Regions from separate parts of the Homo sapiens genome. Here region 1 is linked to region 2. Evidence: promoter capture Hi-C in 16 types of primary human blood cells and fetal thymus (Javierre and others, 2016). All regions are on one chromosome and are shown on one strand. The core of a region is centred on a gene start or on the middle of the fragment in contact, and the rest is flanking DNA. Distances in the headings are between cores, read along the strand shown. Region 1 overlaps ERBB3 (erb-b2 receptor tyrosine kinase 3). Region 2 holds the start of SMARCC2 (SWI/SNF related BAF chromatin remodeling complex subunit C2).

Region 1 (5,303 bases), core at 2,692-5,191, 110 kb before region 2:
GGTTGTGGGTGCTGCCCCCGGTTTGCCAGGACCACCTGGGAGAGGGGCGGTCAGGCTCGGGTTATCGGCGTGGTCCGGCCGAGGGCGGCATTCCGGGACCCTCACGCCACCCTTCTCCAGAGCGTCGCCGACCCTCTAATTGGTCTCCCCAGAAGAGGCTGAGGCCGAAACAGTAGTTCACACTTCTGAGGGGCCCTGCAGGGAGGGGAGCAGGGAACTTCATTCTGTAAACAGGAGGTGCTTGGAGGTGGGGGCCTTGGCGGGAAGGGTCTCGGTTTGCTCGCCAACCCCCTGCCCCCCACCCGCGCCGATTTCAGCTACCCCTAGTTTCGTTGTTTTGCCGACAGGGCGGAGCTACAGAAGGTTGGAGGGGGTTGTTGTTCTCTGGTGTTGGAAAAACAGGAGCGGCACCTCCTCTTCCGTGAGTGAGCCTGCCCTGGGGAGGTCTGAGATTAACCAGAGGGCCAAGTTCAGGTGACATCAGGCAGGAGGCCCAACAGAGGCTGGCGCCCCCTTTCCTCAGTATAGCAGAGCTTAAGCAACATCTCTTTGTCAAGACCCAGGTCAACACAACTCATATTTATTGAGCATCTACTATACACAAGGCCCTGGGCCAGGAGCTGTAAGGGCAAGGATGTCCAGCCTCTGGTCTTTTCTCTCCCCAACCTGAGGATCAAGAGGGCACCTCTGCTACTTTCTAAGCCTCCTGCCTTGGGGAGTCCTTCCTGGGCTCAGCTTGTGCCTCCCGCCCCCATTTTGCTTATTGTCTGACACTGTCTCTAGGACCCTAGACAGAGCCCCGGATTGCTCTTCTCCAGTCCTCCCCCGACTCCCATGCTATCTGAGCCCACCCCTTTGGGGTGTCTCTGGGACCGTGGACACCTGAGGACTGAAGTTCTGTGGATCTCCTCCCCTCCCCTCAGATCTCAGCTTGGGGTTTGGCACAGCCAGGGCCCCTTCCCCAGTGTGGGAGTGGAAGAAACCACCTGTGCTTCCCTCACAGTTGCTGGGCCTAAATTTAGATCCTGGGATTTTTAGATGTGAACACTCCCAGCTGGTGGAGGGGGGTGGTCTGGGGACTGGCGTGGGAGGGAGCAGTGGAGTGACTGTATAACTGTCCCATCCAGACTCCTGCAATCTTCACCCAGAAACCCAGGAGTACCAGAGTCTGGCCACCCTCCCTGGGGAGGCAGGAGGCAGGCATGGTTGGGTCTCTTTACCCTTTATCTGGGTCCTGCAGCCTCTGGGCATCCGGCCCTGTCTCAGTCCTTCTATAGCCCCTTTGTCCTGGCTGTGATGGGGGTGGGGGATGTTGGAGGGGAGGCCTCTGGTTGAGGAGGGGCTGGAGATTCTGGCTCTATCCCACCCCTAGTGCTCTCTACCAAAGGAGGGCCTGTGACACTGCCCCTCCCTATGCTCCCGGTTCCTGGGTACAGCAGGGATTTTTATGATTCCCTTCCCCTGCCCTGCTCCCCAAGCTGCCTAGCTCCTCCCCAGAGGTGTTGTTTGTGCTCCCTTCCTGCCCAGGCCCTTTGCCCCCTGTTTGTGTAATATGGACTTTACCCTCAGGGTAGCAGGGAACTGGGCTACCTCTAACACTGTAGCCTTCCAAGCACAGACACAAAGTCTGCACAAACACTTATGGGCACGTGGGATAGATGGGGCCACCTGAAATACTTCCTGCAAGGAAACCCAACTATAGATTCCTGAGCCAGCAGGACCAATGTGTACGTGTTCGTGTGTACATTGTGTGTGTATGTGTGTGCCCACACTACTACTTCCCTGTGCAGAAAGCTTGGCTCCTCCCTTATCTGGGGAGAAGTGTTGGCACTATAACTTGGGAAAGGGGGTATCCTGCCAGGAAGGGGATTGGGGTGGGGCTGTTCCAGAAATGACTAACCTTCCTAGTCTCTTTCATTTCAACCCAAGGACCCTGGAGTTCCCAGCTCCTCTGGAACTAGCTCTCTTTGCTGGGACTAGCCAACCTTCATGGGGAGTGATAAGGAGCCCTCCAAGGTCAAGAAGTCAGACTAGGGGTGTATGTTATAGGAGGGATTGGGGCCTCACCAGTCTCCCTCCCTCCATTCCCACTGTTGCCTCCCACTGAGCTACCACCGCCTCAGGGAAGGGTGGCTGGAACAGGTGGTATCTACCCCCTACTCCCCACCCCACACATGGTCTTTCCCTGAACCAGAGGAAAGAGACTGGGGTAGGGCTTCAGAGTCCAGGACTTCCCATAGCCCGTTGTCCACCACATTTGCAAAGAAGAGTGAACTCCCAAGGCTGACATGCCATGTACCTCTAGTCTAGGCTCTCCCCTAGTGTGGGTGAGGATTGCCATGGTGAAAGGCTTTTTCATGAACCTCTTCTAACAATGAAATTGTGTGGAGGCTCAATATGGGGCATCTGCTACTATCTCTCTCCAGGTTCCTCTGTATTTGCTGAAAAATACTCTAGGGCTGGAAAGTGATGCTGAGGTTGCTAGAGTGTGTTGGGATGGGGGAGAGAGTGAGAAGGAAACCCTGAGTTTAGGAAGGCGGGGAGGCAACTAGCTCCTTATCTTTCAGCTTTAAAGACAAAGCTCCCATTGACCCCCCCTCACCCCAGCACTGCCAGAGCTCCCCCCTCTACTGAGGTCACTTGTCTGAGCCCAAGGCTTGAGGGTGGAGGGGAGTGCTGCTGAGGACGGGGTGTCTAGGGACAGGGTGGGGCAGCCCCCCTCCTGGATAGAATCGCCTCATTGTGGGCTGGACTGTGGCCCCAGGCACTGCCCCCACCCTCTGCCCCCATCCCACCCTCAGTAGACACAATAGGGGCTGTGTACTAGTCCCAAAGAGATATTTATTCCAGGACCTAGAGAGAGGCAGGATGAGGGTAGAGAAGTGAGTGCCCTAGTTGGAGGGGGAGAGGAGGGTAATCAAAGTTGCGGCCTTTTCCTAACTTCTCTTTTCTAGGGAGAGAAACAAATTCCCTGTCTTCCTTCTCAGTTAACCCCTTAGTACCCAAAAGAAGCACAGAGGGGTCCCAGGTTGAAAAAGGAAATCTTTTCACCTTCCCATTCATGGAATGGTAAGGGGATTCTGAGAAGAGAGAAAGCTCTCAGGCCACTACAGCTTCTGCCTATCGCTTGTGGGAGGGTTGGAGGCAAATGCCATCTGATCCTGTCTAATGTAACTGGAAGAGGGCAACCAAGGGGGTGATCTTTGGGGATGGCAGATGGGCTGAGAATTTGTGTCCAGCCCTCAGCCACTCTTCCCTCTGCTTTGAACAGTGTGTCCTGGGACTCTGAATGGCCTGAGTGTGACCGGCGATGCTGAGAACCAATACCAGACACTGTACAAGCTCTACGAGAGGTGTGAGGTGGTGATGGGGAACCTTGAGATTGTGCTCACGGGACACAATGCCGACCTCTCCTTCCTGCAGGTTAGTGAGCCCACCCTCCTTCCTCAACCTGCTCCTCTTTATTCTCCCCTAGAACCCTCCTTCCTTCTTCAGGGCTACCTTCTGCTGGAGTTCACCCTTCCTAAGACTCAGGAGTTCCTAAGATTCAAAACCGTGTATTTATGGGGACAGTGGCTGTCATCTGGGACCTATGGTCTCACTGTTGTAGCCAGGGATATATAGGGGGCAGGGTCAGGGGCAGGTGGTGTTCTGTGGATAGTGCAAGGTCAGCAGGGACTAGTGCAGAGAGAAACCTGAGGACCAAGAGGTTACCTGGGGAGATGAGGAAGGGGCCCTACTGGTATGAGGCACTTTGAGGAGAAAGCTGCCTGTCTTCACTCCCAGAAGTGACACAGCAGTGTGACACAGTCTACTCCCTACTCCCAAATAGGAATTAGCAAGAGTTAAGGCCAGGTGCAGTGGCTCATGCCTGTAATCCCAGCACTTTGGGAGGCCAAGGAAGGCAGATCACTTGAGGTCAGGAGTTCAAGACCAGCCTGGGCAATGTGGTGAAACGCTGTCTCTACAAAAATACAAAAATTAGCTGGGTATGGTGGCATGCACCTGTAGTCCCAGCTACTTGGAGGGCTGAGGTGGGAGGATTGCTTGAGCCCAGGAGTTTGACGCTGCAGTGAGCGAGATTGTGCCACTCGTAACAGAGCGAGACCCTGTCTCACCAAAAAAAAAAAAAAAGGCCAAGCTCGGATCACCTGAGGTCAGGAGTTCGAGACCAGCCTGACCAACATGGAAAAACCACATCTCTACTAAAAATACAAAATTAGCCAGGTGTAGTGGCACATGCCTGTAATCCCAGCTACTTGGGAGGCTGCGGCAGGAGAATTGCTTGAACCCGGGAGGTGGAGGTTGTGGTGAGCCAAGATCGCACTATTGTACTCCAGCCTGGGCAACAAGAGCGTAACTCCGTCTCAAATTTTAAAAAAAAGAAAAAAAGAAAGGAAAGAAAGAAGGAAGAATTAAAACAGTTAAAGAGTCTTTAATGCCTGAAGGAGGAGAGGAGATTGAGATTATTTTGCCCTGTTGTCTCTCTCATTTACATAATCTGCTCTGTCACAGTGGATTCGAGAAGTGACAGGCTATGTCCTCGTGGCCATGAATGAATTCTCTACTCTACCATTGCCCAACCTCCGCGTGGTGCGAGGGACCCAGGTCTACGATGGGAAGTTTGCCATCTTCGTCATGTTGAACTATAACACCAACTCCAGCCACGCTCTGCGCCAGCTCCGCTTGACTCAGCTCACCGGTCAGTTCCCGATGGTTCCTTCTGGCCTCACCCCTCAGCCAGCCCAAGACTGGTACCTCCTTGATGATGACCCAAGACTGCTCACTCTAAGTGCCTCTTCCAAGGTGCCTGTCACCTTGGCCGCTGTCTAAAGGTCCATTGCTCCCTAAGCAATAGAGGGCCCCCAGTAGGGGGAGCTAGGGGCATCTGCTCCAGGGAAAGGAACCCTGTGTCCTTGTGGGGCTGGAGTCAGAGCTGGATCTGTTAACCGTTTTTCTAATTTCAAAGTACAGTGTACCGGAGGCCAGGCCTGATGGCTTACACCTGTAATCCCAGCATTTTGGGAGGCCAAGGAGGGCAGATCACTTGAGATCAGGAGTTTGAGACCAGCCTGGCCAACATGGCGAAACCCTGTCTCTACTAAAAATACAAAAAAATAAAATAAAATAAAAAATTAGCTGGCTATAGTGGTGCGCACCTGTAATCCCAGCTGTTCATGAGGCTGAGGCAGGAGACTCGCTTGAACCTGGGAGGTGGAGGTTGCAGTGAGCTGAGATTGCACCACTGCACTCTAGCGTAAGTGACAGTGAGACTCCGTCTCAAAAAAAAAAAAAAAAAAAAA
Region 2 (5,235 bases), core at 1,084-3,583:
CACCACCCCCCACCCTCCCTGCTACTTCTGCACTCACCGGCAGTTTAGTGAGCGGTGCATTGCTGACATGTTTGCCAAAAACTTCTTCCTGAAATTGTAGCAACTGTACAACCAGGCTAGACAGGGACTTGTTGGTGGGTGGTTCAGCTTGTATATACTAAGGAAAAAGAGGGAAAGGAAAGAAAAATAGATCTCAGATAAATTGTCCACTATCTCCCATATTTCTCCCCCAGGGGCTCTGGAAGCATGTGGAGCAAAGAAAATAGTGCCCTTCTCCCCATTTAGTCTCTATAAAGAAAATGGCAAAAGGGAGGCCCTGGACACCCCAACCAGGAAGCTGAAATTCTGCTGCCACCAGCCCAGGTGGCCAGTGTTGGGGGGAACAGGGAAGCTTACTACTCTTCCTCAGTTATACTCTGAAATTGGAGTTGCAGGACCCTATTATCTTGGCACCTCATCTTTAACCAACAGCACTGAGGGTTGTAAAATTCTGGAGGTTTATAAAGTTCAGGTCATGGAAGCAATACCTCTGGGGCTCTAAGAGAGACATTTCTTAGGGGAACTCTGTAAAGCCATGATTCCCCCTATAATGTAGCCTAACAAGAAAAGGTACAAGGAAGTGAAGGAGGGCAAGTTGACTGAGTGAGCTTGTGCATTTTGCTTCTGAAGACTGGGTATAAATGTCTTCATAGGCCCTCCTAGACAGGAAGGGCCATCCACTACCCAGCCTGATGGAGAAGAGCAAGACAACATCTACCCTGTCCGAGGAAACTGTATCTGAGACAAGTAACCCTGGCCCTACTTCTATGTTTCCACACTCTGCTACCTAGTAGCATCCTAGCCTTCCATTCTAATTTGAACCTGAGCCAGGAGACTTTCTTTTTACTTTTTGACCCGTTTTCTCCCCACTCATCACAAAGAAGACAGTGCCTCTCAGTGAGAGGTGAAAAGAGATAGATCTGTGAAGGGAAAGGTAAATGACAAAGAGCTAAGAGCATGGAAGCTGAACCAGGTCACAACTGTCAATTCCCCCAAGGCCGGAGGCTAAGCCCCTAGCCTGATCTCCCTGCAAAAGGTCAAAGGTAGAAGCCTGGGAATAAGAGCCTCTCACAGGCGTAGAGACATGCCATAGAAATAGCAGCTATTTGTCAGGATTCTCACACCCAGAGAGACCCCAAGGGCAGGGCCAGGCTCACAACCAGCATCAGTAGGAAGTTCTCCTAAGCCACTAAGCACACTTCTGACGAGCTGCAAAGCCGGCAGGAAGAACTGGGGAGCTGAAAGAAAGCCATAAAGAGAATCCCTCTCTGAGGGTAGTGAGAAAAAGAGAGGCAGACCATTTCCAGAGAAAACCAGGCCTAGAGACAAAGACGACACCAGGAAGAGGTTTGGTAGAAAAGACAGGTAAGGATTCTTGAACCTTTTGTTCACCACCTTATGATCTCCAGTTATGGGGTTTGGGTGTGAGGGGCTAGAGATAGGAAGCTCACCCTAACCTCTCGACCCCAAACCCAGGGTACTGCAAAGCTAGGTTGCAAGGTGACTTCATTGTAAAATCGAGGAAAGGTTTCGGAAGGGGCCGCTACCCAGGAACTCCTATACCCCGGCTCCCTGAGAGATTCTGTTGCCCCTTAGATGAAGGTGGGGGATGAGCGGCGGAGACAGGTGATCCCTGGGTGGAGACCTTTTTCAGGCTGATGAGCAGCCAACGGCTTGCTCTGTGACTGTTTACCCTCCTGCTTTCCATTCTCTCTCTCTGAACATACACAAAGCACCGGAGAGGCCTCAGCCCCGCTGGTACCTGGCTCCGTGGGGAGCTCTGGCGGGCACGCTCCGGGTTGCGGGGGAGCCCATTGGGCACCCGGTCCACACCCGGCCGGCCGCCTCTCCCAGAAAAGCCAGGAGGGCGATGGCTGAGGGGAAGGTGGGCTAATGGCACCGGGGCCCGCCGGGCAGTAGAGAAAAACAAGGGGCAGAGGGCGCAGCAGTGGGGGCGGGGGCTGGGCTCAGAGGCTGGGGGTGCGGGGAGAGGGAGGCTGGGGGAGGGGCGCGGGAGCGCAGGAGGGCGCGCGGGGGGCTGCTTGGGAGGCCGCGGGGGAGGGGCTGGGGCGCCTGGAGGGTAGGCAGGATCCCGGGGCTGCAGGGCCGCGGTCCCTTTGTCCCGCCCCCGGTCCCCGCGCGGCCCGGCCCGGCCCGCGTACCTTCTTGTAGTTCTTGCCGAGCCACAGCCGCACGTTGTCGAACTGGGTCACGGTGTCCGCGGCCTCGTAGTACTTCACGTTGGGGCCGCCGTCCTTCTTCCGCACCGCCATCTTCTCCGGCTCGGGCCCCGCCGCCGCCCGCCCCACTCAGCTCAGCTCCCGCCTCCTCCGCCTCCTCCTCCGCCCGCCTCCCGCCGCCTCCCGCCGCCGCGGCCGCCGCCTCCCGCCGCCTGGGCCGGCCCCGGTCCGCGCTGCGCCCCCTGCCGGCAGGCCGGGCGCGGCGGCGGAGCTCCAGGCGCGGGCCGACCCTGGCGGCCTCCCCGGCAGCGGAGGCGGGAGCCTCCGGGGAGAAGGACGCTTCCTGGAGGGGGCGCCATTCTCCTGAGATCGCTCTTACCAGACGCGAAGCCCTTTCCCTCTTTTTGCCTCAGCTCGGGAGTGTCACCTCGCTATCCCACTCCAGGCGGCCGCCAGTCGCTGGAGCAGCCCCAACCCGTAGACCCGAGTGGTCCTCACCTTGCGCATTCCTAACCCGACGAAGCCCCTCGTCCCCCAAAACCCCAAACCCCTTTCCCCAAGAAGTTCCTTCCTTCCATCCATTCACAGCAGCTCCCCATTTAAACTTTTCAGAGTCTCCCTCACTCCTCGCGCCTTGTCCACCCAGCACTCCCCTCACTTGTTAACCCAAATGTCCCCTAGTCGCCACCCTGGCGGCCCAGTGCCTTCCCTCAACTGCTTCCTCCGCAGGCCTCGCTGTCGCCTCCTAAGTAGGTGTGAGCTCCTACTCGAGACCCCGACTCTTCGCTAGGCAGGAGACCCTCCCTCCCTGGGTCACCCAGTCCATCCGACTCTTTTTCTTTGGGTGGCGTAGATAGGAGGTAAGGAACCGAGGGGTGGGGAGTCCTCAGGTGTGTGTGTGTCGGGGCCGGTACCCTGCTTCCGGTTCCCGCACGCATTCCCGGATTGCAGTGCGGACCCCTTCTGTAAGCGCGCGATAAAGCGCGGTTTTGGAAGTCACGGTGGCCGAGTGGTTAAGGCGTTGGACTCGAAATCCAATGGGGTTTCCCCGCACAGGTTCGAATCCTGTTCGTGACGGGTTTTTTTTTTTTTTCTTTCTTCTTCTTATTATTAAAAGGGAGTCTCGCTCTGTTGCTCAGGCTGGAGTGCAGTGGCGCGATCTCGGCTCACCGCAACCTCCGCTTCCCGGGTTCAAGCAATTCTCCTGCCTTAGCTTCCCGAGTAGCTGGGACCACAGGCATGCGTCACCATACCTGGCTAATTTTTGTATTTTTAGTAGAGACAGGTTCACCATATTGGCCAGGCTGGTCTCAAACTCCTGACCTCAGGTTATCTGCCCGCCTCGGCCTCCCAAAATGCTGGGATTACAGGCGTCGACTTTTTTAACCCCTTTCACAGCACATAAAGGTAACCCCAGTTCTCACACGTTTCTTTCGTGCACTTTCTCTCTCCAAAAGGGAAGCCGCCAAAAGGTCTTAACCCCTGGATTTGGGAGGATGGGAGTGATCTTGGGAAGTTTAATTATGCACGACTGTATTGGCTGCTAGACTGTGAGGCATTTTCAGAATTTTGTAACTTCAGGCTTCCTGGGAGAGCTTTGGCACATGTCTCATTCTTTTGAGGGCATAGGGAAGGATTTGGTTGAAGGGTTACATTTTGGGAATGTGAGTGGCTGTTTTGCAATATTAGTCAAACTTAGAGTTTCCTCTAAATTTCATGACCAGAAGTCACACCTTGTAGGTCTGATTACACCGAAGACCCAGGAAACAGGATTCTCTCATCTGGATTTCCTTGAGGTGTACAGGGCTAGAAGGGAGTAGTCTATTGAAACATCATTGCAGATCCAGTTAGAGCCAAGGTATGGGAAGATAATTCTCACTTTTTATTGAGTGCTTATTATGTGCCAGATACTGTTTTAAATTATCTATGTGTATTAACCAAGCAAGGAAATTAATCTCATCTTTAACCTTTAACCCTCCTATACTCATCTCACCCCATTTTTCCTATCCCCTAATTTCTGATTGTGGGGAGGATCTAGGCTGCTTGTTGAGGATTTTGTTGTTTGTTTTGGGGGGTTGTTTTTGTGACAGGGTCCCGCTCTGTCGCCCAGGCTGGAGTGCATTGGTGCGATCTCAGTTCACTGCAACCTCAAACTCCCAGGCCCAAGCAATCCTCCCTCCTCAGTAGCTGGGACTACAGGCATGCACCACCACGCCCAGCTAACTTTTTGTATTTTTAGTAGAGACGGCGTTCTGGGATTTCGCCATGTTGCCCAGACTGGTCTCAAACTCCTGGACTCAAGCAATCCGCCTGCCTCAGCCTCCCAAAGTGGTGGGATTACAGGTGTGAGCCACTGTGCCTGGCCAAGGATGTTCTTTTTGTATTTCTTGCACAGCCTTTTGTCCAAAAGGAATCCCAAAGGGCAGGGGGCTCTAGGGTAATACATAGAGCTTTCTACACATTTATACCTTAGAGTTTCCCACCTTCATACCACTGCTCAGGCTGTTATTTCCAGCATGACCCTCACATTGCCTCCCTGTCCCTCACCATTAACACTTTCCAAAATTCTTTAGGCCCCTCCTCTTTGATGCTCTTGATCACTCCAGCTGCCTGTCAGTCTACCACCACCACCATTCACTAAATTGCATGCAAGGACTTCTCCCTTGATATGCTAACATAAAAATAAAATAAAAACAGGGGTGGGTGTGGTGGCTCACGCCTGTAATCCCAGCACTTTGGGAGGCTGAGGCAGGCGGATCACGAGGTCAGGAGTTCAAGACCAGCCTGGCCAATGTAGTGAAATCCCATCTCTACTAAAAATGCAAAAATTAGCTGGGTGTGGTTGGCGGGCGCCTGTAATCCCAGCTACTTGGGAAGCTGAGGTAGGAGAAATCACTTGAACCCAAGAGGCAGAGGTTGCAGTGAGCCAAGATCGTGCCACTGCACTCCAGCTTGGGCGATGCAGCAAGACTCTGTCTCAAATAAAATAAAATTAAAATAAAATAGAAACAGGTTC

The links. Contacts are between HindIII fragments. The CHiCAGO score rates a contact against its expected background, and 5 or more counts as called.
Region 1: a fragment that was not itself captured here is called in contact with the fragment with the promoter of SMARCC2 in region 2 in 1 of 17 cell types (M2 macrophages); the score reaches 6.8 in M2 macrophages.

Annotation. Positions count from the first base shown.
Region 1 is chr12:56,080,480-56,085,782 of GRCh38, forward strand. ERBB3 (erb-b2 receptor tyrosine kinase 3) reads left to right here. Exons shown (of 28, transcript NM_001982.4): 2 at 3,272-3,423; 3 at 4,516-4,702. Among named protein-coding and RNA genes, the nearest start is that of ERBB3, 3.0 kb to the left of the region's middle. RefSeq lists an enhancer at 1-333. The HindIII fragment of the contact is 4,298 bases long and covers 1,793-5,303 here.
Region 2 is chr12:56,187,150-56,192,384 of GRCh38, forward strand. SMARCC2 (SWI/SNF related BAF chromatin remodeling complex subunit C2) reads right to left here and starts at 2,334. Exons shown (of 29, transcript NM_001330288.2): 1 at 2,202-2,334; 2 at 38-157. The coding sequence starts at 2,312. It overlaps TRS-CGA4-1 (tRNA-Ser (anticodon CGA) 4-1), which reads left to right and starts at 3,215; the gene lies at 3,215-3,296. It overlaps LOC107984468 (a long non-coding RNA gene), which reads left to right and starts at 3,543. Exons shown (of 2, transcript XR_007063330.1): 1 at 3,543-4,077. RefSeq lists silencers at 2,071-2,290, 2,361-2,640 and an enhancer at 2,881-2,980. The HindIII fragment of the contact is 5,408 bases long and covers 390-5,235 here.